Regions from separate parts of the Homo sapiens genome. Here regions 1 and 3 are each linked to region 2. The links are contacts of gene promoters, found by promoter capture Hi-C in human tissues and cell types (Jung and others, 2019). All regions are on one chromosome and are shown on one strand. The core of a region is centred on a gene start or on the middle of the fragment in contact, and the rest is flanking DNA. Distances in the headings are between cores, read along the strand shown.

The links. The method cuts DNA at HindIII sites, captures the fragments that hold promoters and counts their contacts. A contact is called where the count stands out against the background at its distance.
Region 1: a contact is called between a fragment that was not itself captured here and the fragment with the promoter of FKBP4 in region 2, in 1 of the 25 tissues and cell types used here (dorsolateral prefrontal cortex).
Region 3: a contact is called between a fragment that was not itself captured here and the fragment with the promoter of FKBP4 in region 2, in 1 of the 25 tissues and cell types used here (dorsolateral prefrontal cortex).

The regions. Positions count from the first base shown.
Region 1 is chr12:2,022,208-2,026,197 of GRCh38, forward strand. The region is part of intron 2 of CACNA1C-IT1 (CACNA1C intronic transcript 1); the gene reads left to right. It also overlaps a transcript of CACNA1C not described here. Among named protein-coding and RNA genes, the nearest start is that of CACNA1C-IT1, 7.5 kb to the left of the region's middle. The HindIII fragment of the contact is 3,937 bases long and covers 1-3,777 here.
Region 2 is chr12:2,793,484-2,797,660 of GRCh38, forward strand. FKBP4 (FKBP prolyl isomerase 4) reads left to right here and starts at 1,487. Exons shown (of 10, transcript NM_002014.4): 1 at 1,487-1,761; 2 at 3,655-3,799. The coding sequence starts at 1,657. ITFG2-AS1 (ITFG2 antisense RNA 1) reads right to left here. Exons shown (of 4, transcript NR_146317.1): 2 at 3,394-3,463. RefSeq lists enhancers at 366-911, 912-1,456, 2,950-4,149 and silencers at 1,306-1,685, 1,716-1,775, 2,126-2,535. The HindIII fragment of the contact is 5,309 bases long and covers 1-3,767 here.
Region 3 is chr12:2,038,706-2,042,801 of GRCh38, forward strand. It overlaps a transcript of CACNA1C not described here. Among named protein-coding and RNA genes, the nearest start is that of CACNA1C-IT2, 7.6 kb to the right of the region's middle. The HindIII fragment of the contact is 5,912 bases long and covers 1-4,096 here.

The DNA.
Region 1 (3,990 bases), core at 559-3,058, 770 kb before region 2:
GGAATGGCCTCCTGTCCAGGATTGGATCCTGCTGTGCACACTGAGCTGCCAGGACAGGCTCTGGCCACCTGAGTTCAGGGGAACCGGAATACTTGGGTAAATAATTATCTCATTTCTGTAATCTTTCTTAAATGTATGTATAGCTCACATTTGTTTCAATGTTTAGTATTAGAAGTGTTTTGGTCTTTATTTAGAAATTTGGGGTTTTGTTTTGGTTTGGTAATGTTTTTGTGACCAGAAAGATGCCCTAAGGAACTTTTTTTTTTTTTTTTTGAGACAGAGTCTCACCCTCGGGGGAGTGCAGTGGCACAGTCATAACTTGGACCTCTGGGTCCAAGTGGTCCTCCTGCCTCAGCCTCCTGAGTAGCTGGGACTACAGGTGCATGTGACTACACCCAGCTAATTTTTGTATTTTTTGTAGAGAAGGGGGTCTCTCTATGTTGTCCAGTCTGGTCTCAAACTCCTGGGCTCAAATGATCCTCCCGCCTCAGCCTCCCAAAGTGTTGAGATTACAGGCATGAGCCACGTCACCCAGCCTTAACTCTTGTTCGTATCCATTAGCCTACGGTAAAATGGGTTTTGTTATACCAATTTTGTAATACCCTTATATCATCATTTCACTTAAAGTGACAATTCCTGAGAACCTATCAGTGGCATTAAGTGAAGACTTATTGTACTTAAATAAATCATTCATTCCACCTGGTATAAAAAGAGAATGCTGTGGAAGGTAGAGTCTACCCAGGTTTAGCTTTGAGAACGTGCAGCTTGTACAGTCTCCCACTGAGAAGGGCTCTGAGCCTGGTTTTATACTCTGCTGTCACAGCCTTGAAATTCTTAATAAGTTTTGAACAGGGAGCCCTGTATTTTCATTCTGCACTGAGCCCCCCAAATTATTAACTTGTTCTGGGTCTGCCATTAAAAACGAAAGAAAACAGTCAAGCTGACAAATAGAACACCTGCTTTGGTGGTGGTGCATCGAGTGTTCTGTCGTTCTGTAGGTTCATATGTTGGAGTGAACTTTAGAACCCATTCTCTATTCTGTGGCTTCTGGTCTTACTGCCCTGGACAGCCTCAGTGGTCAGGGATGGAGTGTAGGGTGTGGAGAGTGGCTTCCTTTCTTGTATATTTAATGCCATGCGTGGAGAAGGGCTGAGTTCTGGCAGGAATGCTTTTACATTTTTGGCTTTTATCACTTTCTACTCCTCAGACACTGTGTCTCCTGTCACAGGAAATTTATGGGTACATTTTAGTAGTTGACAGGAACAACGAGCCTCCAGGATTTCCCCAGGAGAAGCTTCCACCTGCCGAGTGAGAACTTCCTCCTATTGGCTAATGTGGAAGCTCTGGGCTCTCCTCATTATTTCCTCAGCCTGTCATAAATGCCAGGAATGCAGGTTTCACAAAAGCAGGCAGAGGTGCGCTGTTAGTAACTGTTCCAGGACAAGTCATTTGGGAGAGGTACTTACTGTGCTTCTTGGATGTCTGCTTCCAGTCATCTTAGTAAGTCCAGTTTGACAAAAATGTGCCTTTCTAAGTAAATGCAGCTCACAGCTTATGGTTGCCAATGAAAAATAAAAAGGACAGATGTAACATGGAAGAATGCATAGCTACCCAACACCTTCTTCAGAACACCAGGGCCTGATATTATGTTTTGCTGCTTAATAGACTTCATTCAGATTATGAATGCCTTCAAAGTGGCAGTAAGATATCTTGAAAAGAGCACTGCACCGGGAGTCAGGAAACCTGGGTTTCCACCTAGTTTAATCTTCCCAGATTAAGGGGAGGAGTTGAATTAGGCAATAGCTAAGCCCTGCACTTAGTACCCAGTGCAGACATTGTAGGAGGCTCCCTCTTTTGGGAATTGACAGATGTTGAGCTTGGGTTTCCTTCTCTTGGCTCAAAGTGAACAGGCTTTTAATCAATCCAGAGATATTTACCTAGATCTTTTCATTTACTGCACTGCAAGCCCTGTGGCAGAATGATATACAGGAAAACCTGAGGCTCATTATGAGAAAATTGCATAAGGGGCTTCTCTCCTGACTTCCACGTATGGCCCAGGAATCTTGGTTCTGACTGTCAGGCCAGCTCCACCTGGGCCAGGTATTTATAGATGACATCCTTAGATGGGGAACACAGAGCTAGCTGCTATAATAGAAACCCAAAATAACAGTGAATTTAAGGGGGGTAGACATTTATTTCTCTCTCAAGCAATCCAGGGTGTCTCCATGTCAGACTCCCAGGCCCCTTCTGTGTTGTTGCTCCTGCCCACCTAGAGTGTTGCCCTCCCTGCATGGCCCATGATGGCTTCCCACTGTGTTCACAGTCCAGGCAGCAGGATGGAAGAAGGGGAGTCAAAGCCAGGTTGCACCCATCTCTTTTCCCTCTCAGCCCAACAACCAGAACTCAGTCCACTGAAAGGTAGGAAATGCAGTCTTTGTTCTGGGCAGCCATGTGGGAGAGTGGATACTGGCAGACAAGTAGCAGGTTCTGACATGTGGCCTGTGTCTTGGGATTTGATTAAGATGAACCAAAGGGCCTGTTGAGAGCATCTGCACTCTGACCTGTCAGGAGATCTCTATACACTGTAGGCCACGAACTTATATGCAACAAACCACGAAGACCAAAGCAGGCTGTGGCACCAATCACCCATCCCTCCTCCAAGGAGCTGGTGCAGACCCTCAGCTGGTGTGGCCATGGCTGTGGTCTCTGTGCTAGTCCAGTCTGGGTCTTCTCTGACTATCCTGCACTGTTCTTGTTTGGATTGCTCTGGAGTGCCAACTTTTCTTCACAGTTCTTCTGATTAGGTACTAAACTTCATTTATGCATTTGTCACAGTGGAGGCTCCAGGCACTTATTTCTGGGGAAGGCAGGCTTAGCCTTCCCCACGGCCTCTGCAAAGTGCTGCTCTCAGTTCCCTTACCCTGCGTTCTCTGTCTCTTTGTGCAATTCTGTGGTCGTAGTGAAGGCGAGGGGGCCCCTTCTAGTGGGAAGGGTCACTTCCAACTTAGATTCAGACTGGAAAGATGACCTCCAGCTGTGCAGAGACATGTTCCATGGTTCTGCGTTCCACAGAACATCTGGAAGAGCTGATTCCAAGCGGTGGTGTCTCAGCACAGCTGGGGCAGTGCTGTCTGCCCCCTGCCATGGTTGACATCCATTAGGTGAGTACCCTGGGTGTTGTGGTGTGTGTTAGAGACTCTAGAGGTGAATGTGGTGGTCACCTTTTCCCGTTCCAGCTCTGCACTCTCTGCAGAGTTGAGGGCCAGACACCTTCTTGTTGAGGACTTAGTTTACTCTAAGCCTCCAAAATGGTTCTGGGCCCATTTTACTTTTAGCCTCCCAACACAGTTTGGGCCGTCCTGTTTTCCTTTATTCTCTCACATCTCAGCCTCCCAAAATGCTGTTCCATCTTCTGTCTTCTGACTCAAATCCTCTTCATCCTTTGAAGACTCCAATAACTCCTCTTGGAGAAGCTTTCACCTAAAATACCAGCCTTGGGATTTTTATTACCTTGTCAATTCTCCCCAAATTTCTTTCACTGGCCGAGCAGAGCCATTACCAATCTCTATTGTTCAGTATTTAACTTCACATATTTTTGTCCTCTTCTCAGGTTTTAAACTCCTGACTTGTTTTATTCATGCATTTATCAGTTATTTACTAGGATTTGCTAGGCACAGAGCAGACAAAGACAAATAATTCCCCTGTGTAGCACTTCGCTAGGGTAACCAAGGGGGGAAGACATTTACTGGAAACAATAACAGAACAAATTATTACCTTACTAGTAGACATATGTGCAAAAGCCTTTGAAAGACCAGAAGAAAGCCAACTGCCTGGCAATGTCGGAAAGTTTCATGGGGGAGCTGGCATTCTTATTGGCCTATTCAGTGGTGGATGGATGGAAACAGTTGCTGGCTGGAAGAAGTATGAGTATAAATGATCAACAATTTGAAGAAGGTGAGAGTTGGAGGTCTATTTATTTGGGTGGGAGAA
Region 2 (4,177 bases), core at 237-2,736:
CTTCTGCATCCCTTTCAAGTTCCGTCGGCAGGGACTACAATAAATCATCACATTATGACGCTGAAAGTTCATCTCTAAAAAGCTTTCAATTTAGTTTGATGAGACTAATGGCGTCCAATCGCACAGTGCCGGGCACATAACGGGAAGTCCAAAAATACAGTTATTATTGGAATAAAAATTCAGGCTGGGCGCAGTGGCTCACGCCTGTAATCCGAGAACTTTGGGAGGCCGAGGCGGGCGGATCATTTGAGACCAGATGTTCGAGACCAGCCTGGGCAACATGGCGAAACCCCGTCTCTACTAAAAATACAAAAATTAGTCGGCGTGGTGGCGGACGCCTGTAGTCCCGGCTACAGAGAGCCAAGATCGCACCACCGCACTGCAGCCTGGGCGACAGAGCAAGACCCTGTCTCAAAAAAAAAAAAAAAAGAAAAAAAAATCAGCCAAGACTTGGAAAAAGAAATTTAAAAAAGGAAAATTCATGCAGCCAGTAACTATTGGGACATCACTCACCAGGCACTATGCTAAACTGGGGTTAGGTGCTGAGCAAAACCAGGCCCCTCTCTAGATGGCTCTCTAGGTCCCACGACCATAGCTTAGGTGACACCGGCACCTGCGCGCTCCACAGCCTGTCGAAAAACACTCGGGAAGCAAACATTGAGAAGAAAATACTCCTTCTGTGGGCCTTTAGGAAAACCGAGTGACTTTTTTCGTGAGGGGAACCCATCTTTGTAAGCATTCGCGGAAACGGCAGTTTTATTACCGCCGGGAAGGGTCCCCTGAGTGTGTGCCCCATCTGAGTTCCGAGCTGGGCGGGCCATGCCTTGCCAACCCCGCTGCTCGCAGCATCTGCAGGCGCTGAGCGAGGCATCGCTGCCTGGCCGGGGCTTCTCGGATCTGGGGAAATCGAGGTCGCTTTCCCCGGCTCTCTGCAGCGGGGCAGCGCTGTCCACTCACTCCCCGCTCCCCGCGCACGCCCTTGCCCTCTTTCCCCCAAGTAGGGAAGGGTCTACGCGGGTCATAGCAGAGAGGCCACGCCGCCCGTGGTGACGGCCGGTCCCGGGGAGGGGGCGCCGCCACTGCCATCCCGCAGCCTGCGCTCCCCACACCCCGCCGCAGGCGCAGCGGACTGGTGGAGTGATGTCGGGAGATCGATCGAGAAGAATCTGGAAGAATCCGGTTAGACAGGGAAGCGGGCGGGGATGGGAGGGAGGGAGGAAGGGCCAAGGGAGGCCGCCGGGGAGATCCCGAGTCCGAGGGTCCCAGGAGAAGGGGGAGGGGGCAGGCAGCCAGAAGGAGGCAAGAACCAAAAAAAAAAAAAGAAAAAAAAATTCCGAAGCGCCCGCAGCACTGAGCCCGAACCGGCTCAGTCCCGCCGTCTCTAGAAAGTTCTGCACCCCGCCCCCTCTGTCTGCGCTCCCGCTCCTCCCAGCCCCTCCCTCGCGGCGGGGCGGGACCAATCGCTCCCCGAGCCGCTCCTGACCCACCTACCCCAGCTCTCGCGCCGCGTGCAGAGGTGCTCAAGCCTCCTCGCGGTCCGCAGTCAGTGCCGCCGCGCCCGGCCTCCCGCACGCCCCGCAGGTAGCGCCCCCGCCCGCGGCCCAGAGTGCGCTCGCGCCGGCACCAGCTCCCGGATAAACGGCGCGCCGCGCGGAGATGACAGCCGAGGAGATGAAGGCGACCGAGAGCGGGGCGCAGTCGGCGCCGCTGCCCATGGAGGGAGTGGACATCAGCCCCAAACAGGACGAAGGCGTGCTGAAGGTGAGGGGCGGCGGGGCCTGCGGAGGCGTCGGAACCCGGGGCCCCGCGGGCCGCCCTTCCGCCGCGCCCGGAGCCCGCGGCCGGGCACGGGTCGAGGCGGCCGCCTTTGCAGCCTCGCGGCCGTCCCGCCGGGGGCCGGTGGCATCGCCGTCCCGGACCGGGCTGCGTCGTTTAAGGCACCGAGGCCGGCCATGCGCTCGGCAGGGGGGCGGCCTAGGTGCGCGGGCCGAGGCCCCAGGCTCCCCAGCCGGCAGCGCCCGGGCCCGGGCAGGGGGTCGGGATTGCAGTGCCCACCCCGGCGCGCGCGGGGCGGCGGAGAGGGGCGGGGCGAGGCGACCGCCGCGGGCACCCGAGCCGCAGCCCGGGGCCAGGCCGGGCCTCCCACGCCACGCCGCCCCCGACCTCGCGGCCCCAGCGGAGCTGCCAGCCGCGGGCCGCCTCGTTGGTGGCGGTGCCAGGGCTCGCCCACCCGGGCGGTGGAACACGGGCCAGGACGGGGAGCGACTCCCCACAGTGCTTTCCTGGCCCTTCGGCCTTTGTGCGACGCAGGCGCGACAGGGTTCCGGCGCCCTCCCGGGGTCCCCTGCCGACGCCGGGACCCAGCGAGGTCCCCACTCGCCGCGCGGCGCCCCCTCCCTCGGCCCCGGGGAGGCCGGGCGCGGGGCATGCCGGGAGCTGTAGTCCCCTCCCCCCTCCGCCGCCTCCCGGAGCCAGGGCTGCGGGGTGTGGGGCGGGGAGGAGGCGCTCTGCTGTGGAGCCTGCCGCCGAGTGACCGCTCGACTACAAATAGCCTGGGGAGCTGCGGGGAGGGCATCTTGACCTGGGCCAGGACAACCTGCCTTGGGTCGGAGCAGGTTCCAGGGAGAATCAGAGATGGTGAATTCCCAGCCTGCGTCTTATGCCTTCTCCCCATCCGCTGCTGCGTCCTCATCCTGGCTTCCCACCGCTGAGCTCCGCGTGTGCGGCACCCACCTCAGGGGGCCTTTACCTGGTCCAGAAGTGCATCTGTCTTTGCACCAGATTATTGGGGACCTCAAGCGTCTGCTCCAGCGGCTCTCCTGTGGCATGTGACTTCCCCTTCTCGCTCCAGCGTCCTGCCGTTTTCTACGAGATTGTTATTCCAGGAAAGCTCATTTCCCCTTTGATCCATCATTCCTTCCCTTTTACCTTTCTACTCCTCAAAGCCCCTGTCTATTCTTCGTGGAAGCTTTCCCTTGGAGGGTAACCACACACCTACCAGGTGGCGCTAAAGAAGCCTTTACGTTTCTGGGAAATACTCCAGCCCTGGACTAACTACCAGAGGAATACTCAGCTCCCAAGTCAGAGTTTAAGGTCCCATGGAGAGCCTCCGGGTTCACCTATAACCTGGTTTCTTCCTTACCTGTTTTGAACTGTTTCTATTCTCTTCACTCATACTCCTCTCGCTCTCCTGTCTCCAAACCAGACCTTAGTCTGACGACCACTGGCATGAAGGAAGAAGGAGGAAGTGTGGCATAAATACTTCCCCCTTTGCCGATTATAATAATAATCTATTATTCAACCTTTTACTGGTCTAATCTTCCAACAACTGTAGGAGATAGGGATTATCATCACTGCTTTACAAATAAAGTGTGGAGAATTTTAAAAACTTACCATACAGCGGAAACTTGAACTCAGATCTCTCAGCCTTTTGTCTCCTTTTTCAAACCAAGTCTTGCTGCACCTCAAGAAAGACAAGAAGGTTAGTTGACTCATAAGCCAAGCTGCTAGTAACTGAATCTGGAGGGACAAGTAGGCAGAGGAGGATGAACACAGAGAAGTCCCTTTATGTTCCCTCTGGAGGCTTGCAGGCAGTGCTGGTGCCCCTTTCTGCCCCAAACCCTGGGGTACTCACTTTCTCCCCCTTCCTCCCAGGTCATCAAGAGAGAGGGCACAGGTACAGAGATGCCCATGATTGGGGACCGAGTCTTTGTCCACTACACTGGCTGGCTATTAGATGGCACAAAGTTTGACTCCAGTCTGGATCGCAAGGACAAATTCTCCTTTGACCTGGGAAAAGGTAGGCGTGGTCAGTGGGCTGGTAGGATAGGTTCGAGGTGGACACAAGCTGTCACAAGCAGAAACCATTTTCTCAGGACCAAGCTCAGGGAGGAATGGTTTATCACAGTCTGTTAACTCTTTCGGTCACTCTTTTTTTTTTTTTTCTACCGTTCTGTAACTATATTGATCTCTGTCTCCCCTTCTCCTCATCACCTCCCAACACCTTACTCCCCCTTCAAAGGTGGACTGTCTTGCATCTTAAACTCTTTTGTTCAGGGTCACGTGATCTTTTACAGTTCTTAGACCTGGTAGCACTTAATACAACCAGGTACCTCACCTTCTGGTCCCATTTCTAAAGGATGTCCAGCTTCCCCATGAGTGTGGTGCAGTAACTCTT
Region 3 (4,096 bases), core at 915-3,414, 750 kb before region 2:
GACATGTGACAACTGTTTCTCCTTTTAATTTCCAGTTATTGTAGAAATAAATCTGGCTTACATGGTATTTCTCCTTTTTATTGCTTGACCTGATGTTTTTTTCCCCATGCAAGTCACTTCCTAGCAATTCACTCCAATATTACAGCAACACCCTGACTGTCCTGTGCCCAGGTATGTTGACAGGTGAAATCCCTTAACATAAATTTTGTCAAAAAAAAAAGCCTGTAAAAGACAGATGCTGGGAAGTGGAAATTGATAAATCCAGGTGTTACAAATGGGACACTGTTAAATGCAAGGATTGCAAATGTTATATAAGTAAACACAATGTCCATAGGTAGGAAATTGCAAAAGACAGGTGCTGTGAATATTGGTCTATGAGGCCAACAGACAGCCCTTTGCAAATAACATGGGCCTTTTAATAGACAAATAAGAGCTGAAACTTTCATGCAGAGTTCCAATCCCCTGGTAGAGGATCTTTTTGGCTAAGTAACTCACTAAACAATGATGAGAGGACAAGTGTAACAACCTCCCTTTAAACTAATCTCCCTGGGTAACCTGCCAGGGAGTTTTTCCAGGAACATTAGCTACCAGCTCAAGAGCAGCCTTTCATGTAGATACTTTTATGAGATGATTGATAGAAGTAGGGCAGGTCTCTTGGTTTCAAAATTTCTCTTTTACCAGCCTGTAATATGCCTGAAATTGCACCATTAGCAATATATTTTTTGGATTAATTCTCTACCACCAACAGGATAGATAGAGCAATCATTCATTTATTCATCAGATGTTTATTAAGCACTTACTGTGAGCCAAGTACTATTCTTGGTAAAGGAAATTCAAAGGTAAGTACAACATCGTTCTTGCCCTTGAGATGTTGAGAGTCTAGTTGGGAATACAGGAGGTAAACAAATAACTACAGCAATATAACTAGTGCTTTGATAGAGATAGCGGTAGGCTCTATGGGAACACAGAGGAAGAAGAACTTGACCCGGGACTCTTGAGCTGAGTCTTAAAGGATGAGTAGGAGTTTGCACACAGATGCAAAGGATGGAGGTCTGCAGTTTGGGTGTGGGAGGGGAGAAGGAATAAGGGATGATTTTGGACCATTGGGCCATAGGGGTGAGCATCCCTGTGCCTGAGCTGGGATTACAGTTCTTGGGTTCCTGTGGGGCATCATGTCAGTGTTGGCTGCCTATATATGTAGAGAGAGTGCTTCTGGAGATGGGGATGGGGGTAGGATTTATGCAAAGAGGAGATGGAGGATGGCAGAGACCAATGCATCTACTTGGATGCCATGGAAAGCCTGACGGCACTAGATTTTTCTTTCAAGTCATCACCTCTTCATTCAACTTGCTTTCCCATCCAGGTACTTTTCTACCCAGCTGTGGCACACCCATGACTTCAGCAGGGAGAGAGTTAAGACTTTGAGGATGGACAGCAAAACTCCATCTATTTTTTTTTTGTTCGTTTGTTTCTGTTTTTAACATTCATGATTTGGGTATTGTAGAAACTATCAAAGATGGCTTAAATGAGGTCTTTGTGTGATAGGAAATGTTCTTAGCTCTGTGCTTCCCAAACTCTTTTAACATTGAACTGCTCTCTGCAGAACATCCATCTTGGTGAGCCTTCACTAAATGCATAGAAGTGACAGCAAATAATGTAGCTGATCTAACTACCTCCCCTATAGGATTTACTTTCAGAGTTTTAAGGGAAATTTTCAAGCAGAAAATGGTTACATGGATAAAATTGTTGAGATTTAATTAGACTTTTATAAGAAATGTGAGAGAATTTTGTTATCAAAGTCTAAGCGGTAGGCTGGGTGATGTGGAGATGTCGAATACCTTGACTTTCACTTCTGAAGAACTGGTTTTAAGCATCCTCTTTTCAAATAGACAATTAATTCTTACATAAGAGATGGTGACCAACTAGTCTCTTTTTCCAAAGAGGAATAAAAGACAAAAAGAAAATGGTTGGAATTGTGGTTAATGATATTCAGGTTGGACCAAGAAAGATTATTGGGTGCTTCAATGGATTGTCAAAGATGACAGAAAATTCCATCTTTGTGGTAATAAGTACCCTGCTATGTCTATACTTTTCCTTGACAAGCTTTTTCATACTAACATTTCACTTTGTACTCAGAATCCATTCCTTGAAAGTTCCTTGGTTTATGGTTGAGGGAACTGATACTCAAAGAACATTAAGAGACCTGGCTAAAGTTACACAGCCAAGTGGTAATAGATACAAGCTTTAAACTCAGAGTTCTTTCTAATACCTGACACTTTTGTCTTCTAGGCTGTAAATGAAAATACAGCAGAATCAGATCTGTCCAATAAATCCTGATTGAAGGCCAGAACTGAAAGTATTTCTTCTGAGGCTGAGAAAAATTCCATCTCAAACATTGAAAGGGTAGAAATAGGCAGTGAAGTCCTAGTGCCTGCTCTGTTTGGCCTTTCTGGGTTAAAAACATACTTAAAATTGAGTGACTCTGTTGTGGAATAAAATCCAAACAATCTGGGTTGAAAAAGACTGCTTAGGGGTGTGTGGGTCACAGTGATGCTAAGGGTATTCTTTTTTTTTTTTTTTTTTTTTTTTGAGACGGAGTCTTGCTGTTTCGCCCAGGCCAGAGTGCAGTGGCGCTGTCTTGGCTCACTGCAAGCTCTGCCTCCCAGGTTCATGCCATTCTCCCGCCTCAGCCTCCCGAGTAGCTGGGACTACAGGCGCTTGCCACCGCGTCCGGCTAATTTTTTGTATTTTTAGTAGAGACGGGGTTTCACCATGTTCGCCAGGATGGTCTCGATCTCCTGACCTCGTGATCTGCCCGCCTCGGCCTCCCAAAGTGCTGGGATTACAGGCATGAGCCACTGCGCCCGGCCCGCTAAGGGTATTCTTGATATCCGCTGGGATAATGTGACCACAGGACACCTTGCTTGCTTTCTCCAAGAATCTCAAGAAGACTACAAACCCCAAGAAGGGAGGCATCTTGTTCAAGATCATGTTGGGGATAGAAGACAGAGTGAGAATGAGAAAGCAGAGATGTTCATTTGTTTTATGAACATTTACTTATCTGCCAAGGTCTGTAGCCCTGGCCTTCCCTGTGAAGAGCAGCAGCCTGAACCAACGTTCAGTGGCCGGGGCTGCCGAGCCAGGACCTTACGGGGCTGCAGCCTGTGCTGACCCAGGGCCTCCACAGTGCTTTGCTTGCAGATCCCCCCAAAAGAGTTGTGAAAAAGTCTGTGCCTCATCATGCGTTTTCAAGTTGACATCCCAAAAGTTTCATGATAATTTTAAATGGTTGTAAATGATGCAATTTCTGGTGCTTTATAAATCTTGACAGTTTAACATAAAATTGTTGCATTACTCTTTTAAAGTTTCCAATAAAATATAAACACTGCAGCTATTTGATACCTTCTATTATGTATTCAAAGATATATAAAAGCCCTGTTTTTAACAGTCAAAGATTTTTCATCATTTCTTTTTCTCCTTGGATACATATTTACATTCCATTTCCTTCTTAAAATTTTACCCTAATACGATATATTTTTATGCTGGAAAGTCTTTTACTGATCACGCTACCATATTACTCTGCAACAAAAAGAGGCTTATAAATTAAAATTTAAAATTTAAAAATTTTATAAACATAAGGCTTTGTGTTATACGCTTCTTTTGGATTGAATTTTCATCACAGATACTATTAATGTACAACTGAGCAAAACAACATATTTACATTATGAGCTTTTCGAGGTAATTCTTAATATAAAATGTACCAGAAATAATATATTTTACATGATCGAAGGGATATGTTGTCCGATTCAAGAGGCTTTCTAGACACCTGTATTTCAAATGTCTCCTTGTCTGGGCACCAGTATTTCCTAGATTTCCTTGTTTGGTGTCCTGGGGGCATTCACACCACAGGGATATGGACCTGGAAGGATGCAGGGTGAATGACAGGTGTGCTTCTCTGCTGAAGTGTAGGATAAGGATGCCCCTTTGAGAGACAGGAGAAGCGGCAGGTGGGCTCCAGGCTCTGCCCCGGGTTGTCCTCCGGTGAACGTGAAGACTGAGCACATATGAAAGTTGAGGGTCTGGAAATGAATTCTAT